Linked DNA regions of Homo sapiens: region 2 is linked to region 1. Evidence: promoter capture Hi-C in 16 types of primary human blood cells and fetal thymus (Javierre and others, 2016). All regions are on one chromosome and are shown on one strand. The core of a region is centred on a gene start or on the middle of the fragment in contact, and the rest is flanking DNA. Distances in the headings are between cores, read along the strand shown.

What was found. Contacts are between HindIII fragments. The CHiCAGO score rates a contact against its expected background, and 5 or more counts as called.
Region 2: a fragment that was not itself captured here is called in contact with the fragment with the promoter of FAF2 in region 1 in 1 of 17 cell types (endothelial precursors); the score reaches 5.1 in endothelial precursors.

What each region holds. Positions count from the first base shown.
Region 1 is chr5:176,444,416-176,451,924 of GRCh38, forward strand. FAF2 (Fas associated factor family member 2) reads left to right here and starts at 3,970. Exons shown (of 11, transcript NM_014613.3): 1 at 3,970-4,055. The coding sequence starts at 3,993. RefSeq lists enhancers at 3,351-3,540, 3,621-3,680, 3,991-4,050 and a silencer at 3,861-3,910. The HindIII fragment of the contact is 11,476 bases long and covers 1-4,398 here.
Region 2 is chr5:176,483,200-176,490,167 of GRCh38, forward strand. It overlaps FAF2 (Fas associated factor family member 2), which reads left to right. Exons shown (of 11, transcript NM_014613.3): 3 at 3,156-3,290; 4 at 5,752-5,828. Among named protein-coding and RNA genes, the nearest start is that of FAF2, 38 kb to the left of the region's middle. The HindIII fragment of the contact is 1,104 bases long and covers 931-2,034 here.

The sequences.
Region 1 (7,509 bases), core at 2,720-5,219:
TATGAGGCTTCTTCCAATTCTGGTTGACTTGCAGAGTAATTTTCTTGAAATTGACACCTTTTTTTGAATTGAATTAGTTCACACCTTTTTCTTTTTTTCTTTTTGTGACGGAGTTTCACTCTTATCTTCCAAGCTGGAGTGCAATGGCGTGATCTCGACTCACTGCAACCGCCGCCTCCCAGGTTCAAGTGATTCTCCTGCCTCAGCCTCCCAAGTAGCTGGGATTACAGGTGCGGGCCACCATCCCTGGCTAATTTTTCTATTTTTCATAGAGACGGGGTTTTACCATGTTGTCCAGGCTGGTCTTGAACTCCTGACCTCAGATGATCCACCCACCTCGGCCTTCCAAAGGGCTGAGATGACAGGCATGAGCCACCGCGCCTGGCCAACACCATTTTTAAATGGGGGGATTTCACATGGAAATCCAAATGTGTAGAGTTTTTCTTTTCAAATTAGCATATTTTACTTTTTAAGGTGTACAATGTGATGTTTTTCAAATAAAATGTATCATGTAGGACATGATGTTTTGAAATATGTGTACTTTGTGGAATGGCTAAATCAAGCTGATGAACATATGCATCACCTCACATTTTTTTGGGGGGGTGAGAATGTCTGTGCTCTGAAAAAAAAATGGGCAGTTCCGGCAATACATGGAAGCCATCCTCCACAGCTAAAAGGCAGAAACCGTCTGTTTTTTGTTTTGTTTTGTTTTTGTTTGTTTTTTTGAGACAGGGTCTTGCTCTGTTACCCAGGCTGGAGTGCAGTCATGACTATGGCTCACTGCAACCTCTGCCTCCCGGGTTTAAGTGATCATCCCTGCCTCAGCATCCTAACTAGGTAGAACTGCAGATGCGTACTAACACACTCAGCTAACTTTTTTTTTTTTTTTGAGACAGAGTCTCGCTCTGTTGCCCAGGCTGGAGTGCAGTGGCACGATCTCGGCTCACCGCAACCTCTGCTTCCCAGGTTCAAGCGATTCTCCTGCCTCGGCCTGGGACTACAGGCATCTGCCACCATGCCTGGCTAATTTTTTTTTATTTTTAGTAGGGACAGGGTTTCACTGTGTTAGCCAGAATGGTCTTGATCTCCTGACCTCAAGATCTGCCCGCCTCAGCCTCCCAAAGTGCTAGGATTACAGGTGTGAGCCACCGTGCCCGGCCCACACTTGGCTAATTAAAAAAAAAAAAAAAAATTGGTAGAGGCAGTCTCACTATATTGCCTAGGCTGGTCCCCAACTCCTAGGCTCAAACAATCCTCCCACCTTGGCCTCCCAGAATGCTGGGATTACAGGCATGAACCACCGCGTCTGGCCAAAAACCACCTTTGGACAGGGAATGGACACTCCGGCTTTTCATATTTTGTCCCCACACGGAGACACATTAAAGTAGAGTTTTAAACAAATGAATTATTTCTTGTAACCTAATCTTTATTGAAAGAAGAAAACAGGGCCAGGTGCGATGGCTCACGTCTGTAATCCCAGCACTTTGGGAGGCCGAGGCGGGCGGATCCCGAGGTCAGGAGATCGTAGACCATCCTGGCTAAGACGGTGATACCCCATCTCTACTAAAAATACAAAAAAAAAATTAGCCGGGCATGGTGGCAGGCACCTGTAAGCCTCAGCTACTCAGGAGGCTGAGGCAGGAGAATGGCATGAACCCAGGAGGCAGAGCTTGCAGTGAGCCAAGATCAGGCCACTGCACTACAGCCTGGGCGATAGAGCAAGACTCCGTCTCAAAGAAAAGAAAGAAAGAAAGAAGAAAACAGAAAGATAGAAAAAGAAAGTGTAACTTTCTTTGAGGAAGTGAAGAAATATTCAATGGTGTTTCATATAACTACAAATTAGGTCTGTTGAAAGAATATGTTACCCAGGCTGGAATGCAGTGGTGTGATCACAGCATACAACAGCCTTGAACTCATGGCCTCAAGTGGTCCTCTCACCTCAGCCTCCCGAGTAGCTGGGACTACAGGCATTTGCCACCATGCCTGCTGGCAAGTATATATCTTAAGTGAGAATTACACAATTCCTGAGGACATCTGACTTTGCCAACCCTCATTTAGTTTATCTGAACCCAACGTTATTGGTGAGATTGAACAACACTGAGTTTCCTTTGAGCTTTGAGCTGCTGTAATAAATTCTCTATAGAGTAGCAGCTATCTGCTTCCGATTTTACCTTCGGGGGTTTTTACTTAATTGACATATTATTTATTTATTTATTTATTTTTGAGACGGAGTCTCACTCCGTCGCCCAGGCTGGAGTACAGTGGGGCAATCTCAGTTCACTGCAACCTCCGCCTCCCAGATTCAAGCGATTCTCCTGCCTCAGCCTCCCGAGTAGCTAGGACTACAGGCGTGCGCCACCAACCCTGGCTAATTTTTGTATTTTTAGTAGAGACAGGGTTTCGCCATGTTGGCCAGGCCAGTTTCGAACTCCTGACCTCAAGTGATCCGCCCGCCTCGGCCACCCAAAGCGCTGGGATTACAGGCGTGAGCCACAGAGCCCGGCCGACACCATTTTTAAACGGAAAGATTTCATATGCAGATCCAAATTTGCAGGGTTTTTGTTTTGTTTTGTTTTGTTTTTCCAATTAGCACTTTTTGGGGGTTGTGTTTTAGGGCGTACCATGTGCTGTTTTTCCAGGACGTCGTGGTTTGTGCAGACCTGGTAAGACCTGATAAGTCCTGAAAGAAGTAGCCAAAATTTCATGTACTCTTCACAGAACCAGCTCTCAAAGCCTTTTCTGTCTCACCGGATCAACCCTGCAAGGGGACGAGGGTGGGGCGCAGGCGGCCGAGAGCCTTGCTGAGAATCACACAGGTGGTCAGTGGAAAAGCGTGTACCAGACCCAGGCCTCTCTGGAAGGTGGGCAGAGGAGGCGTTCGGCGGGAGAGGTGGAAATGAAAACGGGAAATCTAAAGAGAGGTGGCGGACTAGAAGGGGCAAGGGACGTGCAGAGGAAGATAGAGATTGAGGGGTGGTGATAGGGTAGTGTAAGCAGCAGAAGGGAAGGGCAGGGGACTGCCTCGAGGAGAAGGGGCGGCGGCAGCACGTCAGGGGCTTTTGGGGAATCTCATTCAACAAATGGCAAAATGGAGCCCAAGTGGTTTGCCCAAGGATGTCCAGCAGTTGGCAAGGTGGCAACTAGAACCCGCGTCTCCTAATCCCGGTCCAGGGATCTTTCTTCGCCTGTCACAGAGACAAGGGGCCAGTGCAGCGCTAGTGCGGAGAGACAAGGCTCCAGGCACGGAAAAGCAGATGCCGGGCCGGGGTTCCAGCGCCGCAGTCACGGCGGTGGACGGCAAGCTGTGCGGACGACTGGGGGCGCCATGAATGGTCGAGGATCCGGGGAGCCGAGTCCAGATCTTCCTGCAAGTGACCCCGAAGCGGCAATGGAACGGTGGCCGAAGTCTGCCCACAGCTTCCGCTTCGAAGGCGGCGTCGGAAATGCCGCGCCAGTATCCAGAGCCCTTCGGAACCTCCCGAGAGATGGTCAGGAGCTTTTGGAAACTTTAGGTCAGGGGCCAGCGACCAAAAGGCTGGTATTTCGGAACGGCTGCGTCTCCCGAGAAACCTCCAAGAGTATCTGAGGTTGCCGGAAAATGGTTAGAGAGCAGCCGAAATCAGCCGAATGCCATTCGGGATGCTCCGGAGCTTCTCGAGGCACATTCGGGCCCTCTCGGCTCTGCAAGACTGCACTGGAATCTTAGGTCTCCTTTCGTCGCCTAATCTTAGCAGATCCTTTCGTCGCCTAAATGGTAAGAGCGACTTGTACCGACAGTCCCTCGGCAATTTCCGGAAGTGTTCGGGATAGGCCCGAGCGTGGCGCCCTCTGGCGGCGGCCAGAGGTGGCGGGGGGCGGGGGGAGGTTAGTGGGCCAGCGCGCGCAGACGCAGTTGCGCGCCGGCGGCCGTTCAGACCGGATGTGGTTGTGGCTGAGGTCAGTTCCGGCGGGTGACGGTGCGGACGGGTCAGGAGCGTAGAGGCGGCGGCAAAATGGCGGCGCCTGAGGAGCGGGATCTAACCCAGGAGCAGACAGAGAAGCTGCTGCAGTTTCAGGTAGCAGCGAGTACTCGGTGCAGCAGATGCCTCCGTGGGATGGGGAGTAGGCCCCTAGAGGAGTTCAGAACCCTCCTCAGATTGGGTTCAGATCCTTCTCAGACCAGCAGGCCGGCCCCCTCCCCCCCAGACTCCAACTGCCCTGATTCCCCCGGCCCCCAAGCCTCTGTTGGACCCTAGCCTTCCAGCCATCGCTGCGGGCAGACCCGCCTCGTCTGTGCCTCTGTGCCCTCAGCGTGTCAGCTTCCCTGGTTTGCCTTAGCGGCGTCAGTCCTCAGCCATCCTTCCCAGCCCGGTTATCGGTCGGACCCTCTCCGCCCAACGAGTCTATATCTGCCGGAGAAGCTTAGTCCCCACCGCGGAGTTGGCGTCATTTCGGGTCTCTGACAGGAAAACCTCCTGCCAGCATCCCATGCCATTTCCACATACACTCCCACAAACTGGGGCCTCTTGGATACCAGGTTTCGTGTTGGGGGTTCCGGTCGGGGAGGGGGCACCTACACACAGATCTGGTCCCCGCCCTAGAGGTGTGGGAGGACACCAAGTGAGGAAACAATGCAAGATGATAAGTGTCATCAGTGGTCTGTCGGGATTTATTACTTTTGGCTTATTCCTGGATTCCTGTGCTTAACTATGCTTGAGGAGGGTGGTAACTTGCAGAAATGTTATGTTAATACAAGATGTTGTATTAAGAACATTTGCCACTGATCACTTACCCCTGAGCTGGAGAATGGTTGGAGGATACCACTAGGGTGGGTAACCTTGGCACTTTGTTACCAGTTTCCTTATCTCTGAAAGGACTGTCTTAAAAATGTCTACCCCCAGGCCAGGAGCGGTGGCTCACGCCTGTAATCCCAGCACTTTGGGAGGCCAAGGCCAGCGAATCACGAGGTCAGGAGTTCGAGACCACTCTGGCCAATATGGTGAAACCCCGTCTCTACTAAAAATACAAATATTAGCCGGGCGTGGTGGTGCACGCCTGTGGTCCCAGCTACTCGGGAGGCTAAGGCAGGAGACTCGCTTGAACCCGGGAGGCGGAGGTTGCAGTGAGCCGAGATCGTGCCACTGCACTCCAGCCTGGGCAACAAGAGTGAAACTCCGTCTCAAAAAAAAAAAAATCTACCTCCTGAGGATGTTCGGGAGATCAAATGGACATATGGATGTTAGAAGGGCCTTGTAGACTGCAAAATGCCCCCAAATAGTATTTTCTGCTATTAATTTGACTTAGGATAGACCTAAAGTTATTGATACACTTATTTCCTTATATAAAATGTGTAAATATTCATTTATTCAACTATATGAAGAACCTTAGTGCGCAGCGCTGCTAGGTAGAATCCCACTTACTATTTCAGATGTAAGTACTTTGTAAACACTTAGCATACATAACCTCATTTAATACAGCAACCCTATGAGGTTCATACTGTTCTAGTCCCTGATTTACAGATGAAGGGTATCAGGACTAAGAAATAAAATGCTTAGGTTACACAGCTAGAAAATGATGGTGTCAGATTTAAAGCTATGTCCATCTTCCAGAACCCTTCCCAGGCTTCTGACTTCTGTCTTGTGCAACTTATATTTCAGTGTACAGTTGAGTGTGGAATGCAAATGCTGAGAAAATAAATATTTTTTTGGCGAGTTCTCACTTTTTTGCAATTTCCTTGAATAGACTTCACTATAATAAATTTTGAAGTGGTTATTTTTTCCCCTCTTAAATTGAGCAGTGTGTTGGAAGTGTATAAATGGAAAAATGCTGTCATAGATGTAATTGACATTTGATTGGAATTTTTGGTAGAGAAATTGAATTGATGACCCAGCAAATTATTATTAGAGAATGAGTTAAACAGACAACCAGCTTACACTTCCAGGTAGACCACCAATTTCAGAGTGTTGTTTAACTTTGGCAGACCATTTTACCCCTTAGAACTCTTCAGGGGTAAGCTAACATGTGGTTTAAGTGCAATGAAGTAATGTGAGTTATAAATTATGGTATATTTAGTCTCATACTGGAAGAGCATGAATATAAATCTATGATAGCATTTCTGAAGTAAAGTGCATAGGAACCTCCATTTTATCTTCTGTGGAGATCTTTTTTTTTTTTTTGAGACGGAGTTTCGCTCTTGTTGCCCAGGCTGGAGTGCAGTGGCGCGATCTCGGCTCACTGCAACCTCCGCCTTCCAGTTTCAAGCGATTCTCCTGCCTCAGCCTCTCGAGTAGCTGGGACTACAGGCACGCGCCACCACATCCAGCGAATTTTTTGTATTTTTAGTAGAGACGGGGTTTCACGATGTTGGCCAGGATGGTCTCGATTTCTTGACCTCGTGATCCGCCCTCCTCGGCTGGGATTACAGGCGTGAGCCGCCGCGCCCGGCCAAAACTGTGGAGATCTTTATTAGAAGAGAGGTGGGTAGCAGGTTCGAGCTGTATTAAGATTGCCTTATGAAATTGGATTTATTGAGGGAAATGCATCTTTCATTTTTCTATTCTATAAGCAATCGCTGGATCAGATTCATTATCCAGACTGCCATTAAACAAACAGTTGTTGAAACTTATTAGATGCCAAGCATTATACCAAGCAGCAGTTGATGTACATTAACTCTTTTTTTAAGAAAAATATTTTAGACCATGTGTGGTGGCTCATGCTTGTAATCCCAGCACTTTGGGAGGCCGAGGCAGGTGGATCACCTGAGATCAGGAGTTCGAGACCAGCCTGGCCAACATGGCAAAACCTCGTCTCTACTAAAAATACAAAAATTAGCCAGGCATGGTGGCATGTGCCTGTAATCCCAGCTACTAGGGGGGCTGAGGCAGGAGGCTCACTTGAACCCGGGAGGTGGAGGTTGCAGTGAGCCAAGATCGTGCCACTGCACTCCAGCCTGGGCAACAGAGCGGGACTCTGTCTCAAAAAAAAAATTTTTTTTTAAGTAGAGACGGGAGTCTTGCTATGTTGTCCAGGCTGCTCTCAAACTGCTGCCTCAGAGGTTGAGATTACAGTGTTGAGATGAGTTGCCTCAGTGTTGAGATTACAGATGTGAGCCACCACACCTGGCCCCTTAACTCTTTTAAACCTTTTAATATAACAGTGTAAAGGGTTAATCTTGTTCATTTTAATAATGAAGAAACAGGTTCTGAGAGGTCAAATAGCTTTCACAAGTAGTAAGTGGTAGAGATTTAGAAATTTATATCCACAACCATCTTCTGTGTAACTTAATGGAGAAGTCAAGTACACACATGAATAATGGGTATGCGATATATATAGATATATATATATGTGTATATATGTATATTGTATATATACATATATATACGTGTGTGTGTGTATATATATATACATATATATATACACACATATATATATATACATATATATATATACACACATATATATACACATATATATATACACACATATATATATATATATATTTTTTTTTTTTTTTTTTTTTTTTTTTTTGAG
Region 2 (6,968 bases), core at 233-2,732, 36 kb after region 1:
GTACATGCTATCTTGCCGCATTCATGATAGTGTAATTTGATGCAGAAAAGTTTTTCGTTTTGATGAAGTCCAATTTATCTACTTTTTTCTTTTGTCGCGTGTGCTTTTGTTGTCGTATCTAAGATACTTTTGCTTAATCTGAGGTTGGGAAGATTTATACCCTTGTTTTAAGAGTTTTATAATTTCAGCTTTTACATTTAGGTTTTTGATGTATTTGATGTATTTGTAGTTAATTTTTATGTATAGTGTGATCTAGGGGTTAATCCACTTTCTTTTGCATGTGGATATCCAATTATCCCAGCATCATTTGTTGAAAGATTATTCTTTCCTCGTTGAATTGTAAAACTAGGGGACTACCTGATATTAGCCAAATTTCAAAGTTTGAAGCTAGTAATTGAGTTCAGAGGGCACACTGCCCTCCTAAAGACCACCTTCACTTCTGAAACCACCTGCAGTTTCAGAGTGTCGCAAAACCGTCTTCAGATTTGCTAATTCACTAGAACTCACTGAAAGTTGTTATAGTCATGGTTATAGTTTATTATAGGGAACATATAGATTAAAAGCAGCTAAAGGAAGAGACAAATAGGGCAGAGTTGGCCGGGTGTGGTGGCTCACGCCTGTAATCCCAGCCCTTTCGGAGGCCAAGGTGGGTGGATCACGAGGTCGGGAATTTAAGACCATTCTGGCCAACATCGTGAAACCCCATCGCTACTAAAAATACAAAAATTAGCTGTGTGTGGCGGTGCGTGCCTGTAATCCCAGTTACTTGGAGGATGAGGTGGGAGAATTGCTTGAACCTGGGAGGGGGAAGTTGCAGTGAGCCGAGATTGTACCACTGCACTCCAGCCTGGTGACAGAGCTAGACTCCGTCTCAAAAAAAGAAAAAAAAAGAAAAAAAGGGGGCAGAGTCTAAAAGGATTTTGGACATGAAGCTTGCATACTACGCTCCTGCAGAGTCGGGACACATTACCTTCTTGGCATAGATGTATAACAATATGCATGAAGTATAGTAGCCCCCTCCACCCACAGTTTCACATTCTGTGGTTTCAGTTACTAGTAGGCAACTGTGGTTTGAAAATATTAAGTGGAAGATTCCAGAAATAAACAATTCATAAGTTTTAAAATGCATGCTGTTCTGAGAAACATGATGAAATCTCACTCTGTCCCATTCTACCTTACCCGGAACGTGAATTATCCATTTGTCCAGCGTCTCCATACTGTATACAAGACCCACCTGTTAGTCAGTTAGTAGCCGTTATCAGATCAACTGTTGTGCCATTACAGTACTTTTGTTCAGGTTCCCCTATTTTACTTAATATTGGCCCCAAAGCACAGGAGTAGTGATGCTGGCAACTCAGCTATGCTAGAGAGAAGCCAGGAAATGTGTCCTTTAAGTGAAAAGGTTAAAGTTCCTGGCCAGCAGTGGCTCATGCCTGTAATCCCAGCACTTTGGGAGGCCGAGGCAGGTAGATCATGAGGTGAGGAGTTCAAGACCAGCCTGGCCAAGATGGTGAAACCCCGTCTCTACTAAAAATACAAAAATTAGCTGGGCACAGTGGCAGGAGCCTGTAATCCCAGCTACTCGGGAGGCTGAGGCAGGAGAATCGCTTGAACCTGGGGGCGCGGAGGTTGCAGTGAGCTGAGATCATGCCACTGCACTCCAGCCTGGGCAACAGAATAAGACTCCATCTCAAGAAAAAAAAAAAAAAAGGTTAAAGTTCCTGACTTAATGAGGAAATAAAAAAATTATATGCTGAAGTTGCTAAGATCTAGCTTGTGTTTGTGAAATTGTGAAGAAAGAAAAAGAAATTCATAGTAGTTTTATGGTCACACTTCTGCAAAAATTGCAGCCACAGTGCATGATAAGTGCATAGTTAAGATGGAAAAGGCATTTTTTGAGTGGAAGACATGAAGAGAAATAGCTTCCAATGACAGCATTCAAGTTCGGTACTATACATGGTTTCAGGAATCTACTAGAGGTCTTGGAACATATCCCTGTGGATAAGAAGGGACTACTGTATTGCCAACCAGGGAAGCTTCAGTGCTTCCAGAGAATTTATTAGGGCATCATTACATAGGCACGATTGATTTGTTTGGCTGCCCACATGGTTGAACTCAGTCTTCAAGTCAACTGATACCAAGTTGTCCAAAGTTCCCCACCCTAAACCACATGGTTGGTCTTTCTGGCATGGCCGGCTTTCACCCTAAGACTACTGGGTGTTGCAGCTGCAACCTAAAATCTAGTAACAAAGACATGCTTATCAGGTCTGACATAGATTACCTCCCAAAAGGGAAAGATCAGACATCTCTTTGGGTAAGGTCAACTTTTTTTTACTACATTGAGACAAATATCTATTTCAAGGACAGAGTTAAGGAGGGAATGAATTTTTTAAACTGAATATCAGTAGTCTGACAGGAGTTGTATTAGGATCTTTATGTGTGGCCAACTCATTAAATTTTCAGATTAACTCAGAAATATTGTTCCTTTATTTTGCACATGAGGAAACTGAGGCTCATATGTTTTTTTCTTCTTTATTTTTTATTTTTAGAGACAGGGTCTCGTTTCATTGCCCTGGCTGGTCTCGAATTTCTGGTCTCTGGGCTCAAGCAATCCTCTCACCTCAGCCTCCCAAAGTGTTAGGATTACAGGTTTGAGCCACCGCGCCTGACCTGAGGCTCATACATTGAGCAACTTTTCAGAGAGATGGAGCTTGGATCAGACCGAAGTTTCTCTGCTGCAAGCCCCTTCATCAGATGCCACTCATCAGGACTGCTTCACTGCATAACTCCAGGGGTACTGCCTACATTGTATTCTCTGAGGATGGCTTTTCTTGGGATTGTACAGTGAAGCACTTTATATCCCAGCCACCCTAAATAATACATGCCATCTGAATCCAGGCAGTACGCTTGCTGCATAAATGTAGCTTCCAGACAAGTTTCCTCGTCTCCTCTACCATGGATGCATTCTGGAGTGACAACTCCAGTTGCCTCCAAGTACAGCCGGTTAACAGGCCCATGAAGGTGCACTCCTCAGTGACCTTTTGGTGTATTCATGACCATCCTGTTTTGGAATACCACGCAATAGTTGCCTCACCTCTTGTTGTTGGTTGATTTGAGCATCGCTGAAACTCTTGCCACTCCGTTTTCCTTCTCAGGCTGCTGTACAGGACAGATTGAATGAGCAAGAGGGCGTACCTAGTGTTTTCAACCCACCTCCATCACGACCCCTGCAGGTTAATACAGCTGACCACAGGATCTACAGCTATGTTGTCTCAAGACCTCAACCAAGGGCAAGTTATTTCATAGCTGGGATTTCCCCCTTTTTTATTTATAAGTATATCCACTTGGTTATATTGATCTCCCTGTGACAGGAGCAAAACAAATATTTAGAATGTAAACCTGTTAGTTAGACTTGGCCCGTTGGGTGTATTATTTTGCCTTGATTCCTCAAGGAATTGTTACAGAAACTACTCATTTTTTTTTTCTTTTCTTTGCCAGTTATTTGGAGAGTGTTTTCTGCCTCTTAAGTTACAATTTGTTTACTCAAGTTCTTTGTTGCTTCAGTTTACTTAATCTTAAACCAGTTTTGAGGAAGTATATGGAATCTTTGTAGGAGCTTTGGCCACGTCTTTGAAATTAGCCTTGAAGGGCTAGTAGCAAGGAGGTGGTTCACTTAAATTTGACAGACATTTAAGAGTACTCCAATAACCTGGTATCTTGCTACTAGGGATCCAGACATGAATAAAGAGCCAGTCTTCCCATTTCAAATTCAATTTCTCACAGTCTATTGAAGGAAGTCAGATGTGTACACTGATAATGAATTCTAAAGAACTGCTTGGACTTTCTTTTTCTTACCCCTGGGGTTATACTCACCTCTTATACTTTTATACTTGCATTTAGAATCCTAAGAAAACACTCCCTTTAACATTGCAGCAGTTAGAATTTACTCCATCATCAAGCCTTTTTGTGGAGTACTTGATTTTTGTTGTGTTTTGTTCTGTTTGAGACAGGGTCTCACTCTGTCGCCCAGCCTGGAGTGCAGTGGCATGATCTTGGCTCGCTGCAGCCTAGACCTCCCGGGCTCAAGCAGTCCTCCACCTCAGCCTCCTAAGTAGCTGGGACTACAGGTGTGCGCCACCATCCTGGTTAATTTTTGTATTTTTTGTAGAGATGGGGTCTTGCTATGTTGCCCAGGCTGGTCTTGAACTCCTGAGCTCAAGTTATCTGCCCACCTCAGCCTCCCAAAGTGCTGGAATTACAGGCTTGAGGCACTGTGCCTGGCCTACTTGATGTTTTAAAACATGTTTCTAAGTAGTGCTCTGTGGTTTTCTGAAGTACAGTAGCAGATTCCCATGTCAGCCATGGGGCTCCAGAGCTTCCTGGCCACAGACACAGAAAGTGTCTCAGGTTAACACAATGTGACAACTATGAAATGCTTTATAAACTATAGAGCCCTGGATGTATGCTAGTTTTAATAATTAATAACAGCAATAATAATTAGCATTATTACTAAGATAAGCAGCTATATGGGGATTTGTCATTGTGGTTAATATAATTATTTAATGTTTATATACCAATGTCCAAGGTTAGTAATAGTGATTATCTTTCTTGCTATTTCTATATACATTATTTTAGGTTTTTATGTTTGTTTGTTTTGTTTTGGGACAGAATCTCCCTCTGTTGCCCAGGCTGGAGTGCAGTGGTGTGATCTCAGCTCACTGCAACCTCAGCTTCCCAGGTTCAAGCGATTCTCCTGCCTCAGCCTCCTGAGTAGCTGGGATTACAGGCGCCCACCACCGCGTCTGGCTAATTTTTGTATTTTTAGTAGAGACAGGGTTTCACCATGTTGGCCAGGCTGGTCTCAAACTCCTGACCTCAAGTGATCTGCCTGCCTTGGCTTCCCAAATTGCTGGGAGTACAAGTGTGAGCCACCACACCCAGCTAATTTTTGTATTTTTAGTAGAGACAGGGTTTTACCATGTTGACCAGGCTGGTCTCGAACTCCTGACCCCAGGTGATCCATCCGCCTCAGCCTCCCAAAGTGTTGGGATTACAGGCGTGAGCCACCAAGCCTGGCTTATTTCTGTATACCATATTTTGATGTGTAAATCTAAAAAGGAAAGAATGAGTGTGTATCATTTGGGGAACATTAATTTGCAATTGAATTTGACAAGTCTATAAGTAGCTGCCAAAAATAAGTATTAAGGCAGTTTTGGTTTTTATTTGTTTGTTTGTTTTTTTGAGACAGAATCTTGCTCTGCCCCCAGGCTGGAGTTCAGTGGCGCGATCTCAGCTCACTGCAACCTCCGCCTCCTGGGTTTAAGCAATTTTCCTGCCTCAGCCTCCCTGAGTAGCTGGGACTACAGGTGCATGCCACCATGCCTGGCTAATTTTTGTATTTTTAGTAGAGATGGGATTTCACCGTGTTGGCCAGGCTGGTCTCAAACTCCTGACCTCAGGTGATCTGCCCCACTCAGCCTCCCAAAGTGCTGGGATTACAGGCAGGAGATACAGCTCTGGACCTTAAAGCAGATTTAATACAAAAATTCTGCAAAAAAAAATGATAGTAAGATGAAATAAGACCAAAGATGGTGGCACTTAGAAGGATGAGGTGGCCAGGAAGAAGGAACTGTACTTTAGAGGAACAAATCACATGGAAGGACCAAAAAGAGTGAGAAAATCTGACCTAGCCATTTGATAAAATATTAGGGATTGAGAGAATTGTCTCTAACTTTGTTTTTGGACTTTCAGGGGCTGCTTGGATGGGGTTATTACTTGATAATGCTTCCATTCCGGTTTACCTATTACACGATACTTGATATATTTAGGTATGTACCTTTGGATTTATGTATTAGTAGAATAGTAAGACTTTGGAGCTGAAATTTAGGCCAAAATAAGCTTTATGCTCTATCAATGTTGACTTACCAATTTGTCATGAGATGGAATACACTTCCCGAACTGTCTTTTAATACAACATACAAGTATTTTAAATTGTTGAAGCATTGGCAGGCATTGTGAAATGGAATTGTTTTTAAATTAGTCTTACCTTTTGTTTGCAAAAACCAGTCTGACTATATTTATTTGTCTCCCCCTCCCCCCCCCACCATATTTGTCACCTCTACACTTCCTAGTTGATGTCCACACCCTTTCCTTTCTAACCACTATCATCTCCTAGCTTCACACTCCTTAGAACTTTCTTCCTCAACTACTTCTCCTCCACCTGACTACTCACAATCCCAACAAATTCTCTTGCTCTGAGATTACCCAGTTTGCCCTTGATTCCTCCCACAATAGTTGGACCTCCCTAGACACTCCTGTTACACCTTTTCTTTCTTTTTCTTTCTTTTTTTGAAACAGAGTCTTGCTCTGTCGCTGTCACCCAGGCTAGAGTGCAGTGCCACCATCTCGACTCACTGCAACCTTCACCTCCTGGGTTCAAGCGATTCTCATACCTCAGCCTCCCAGATAGCTGGGATTACAAGCATGCGCCACCACGCCTGGCTAATTTTTGTATTTTTAGTAGAGACAGTAGAGATGGAGTCTCATTTTGTTGGCCAGGCTGATCTTGAGCTCCCGGCCTCAAGTGATCCACCTGCCTTGGCCTCCCGAAGTGCTGGGATTGCTGGCATGAGCCACCATGCCTGGCAGCTTCGGTACCTTTTCACTTTGCTCTGGCAGCCCCTAGGTTGCAAACACTGGAACCCTTTTATGTATATACCCACTTGCTTCATACCTTCACCTTTCTTCTAGCTTCCTTCATGTACCATTAAAAGAGCTCATCATTGGAAGCTACAGAGGGTCCAAGGCCAGAAAATGAGTGGGGCTCAACTGGCCGGGCTCTGTGGCTCACGCCTGTAATCCCAGCACTTTGGGAGGCTGAGGTGGGCGGATCACAACGTCAGGAGATCAAGACCATCCTGGCTAATACGGTGAAACCCTGTCTCTACTAAAAATACAAAAAATTAGCC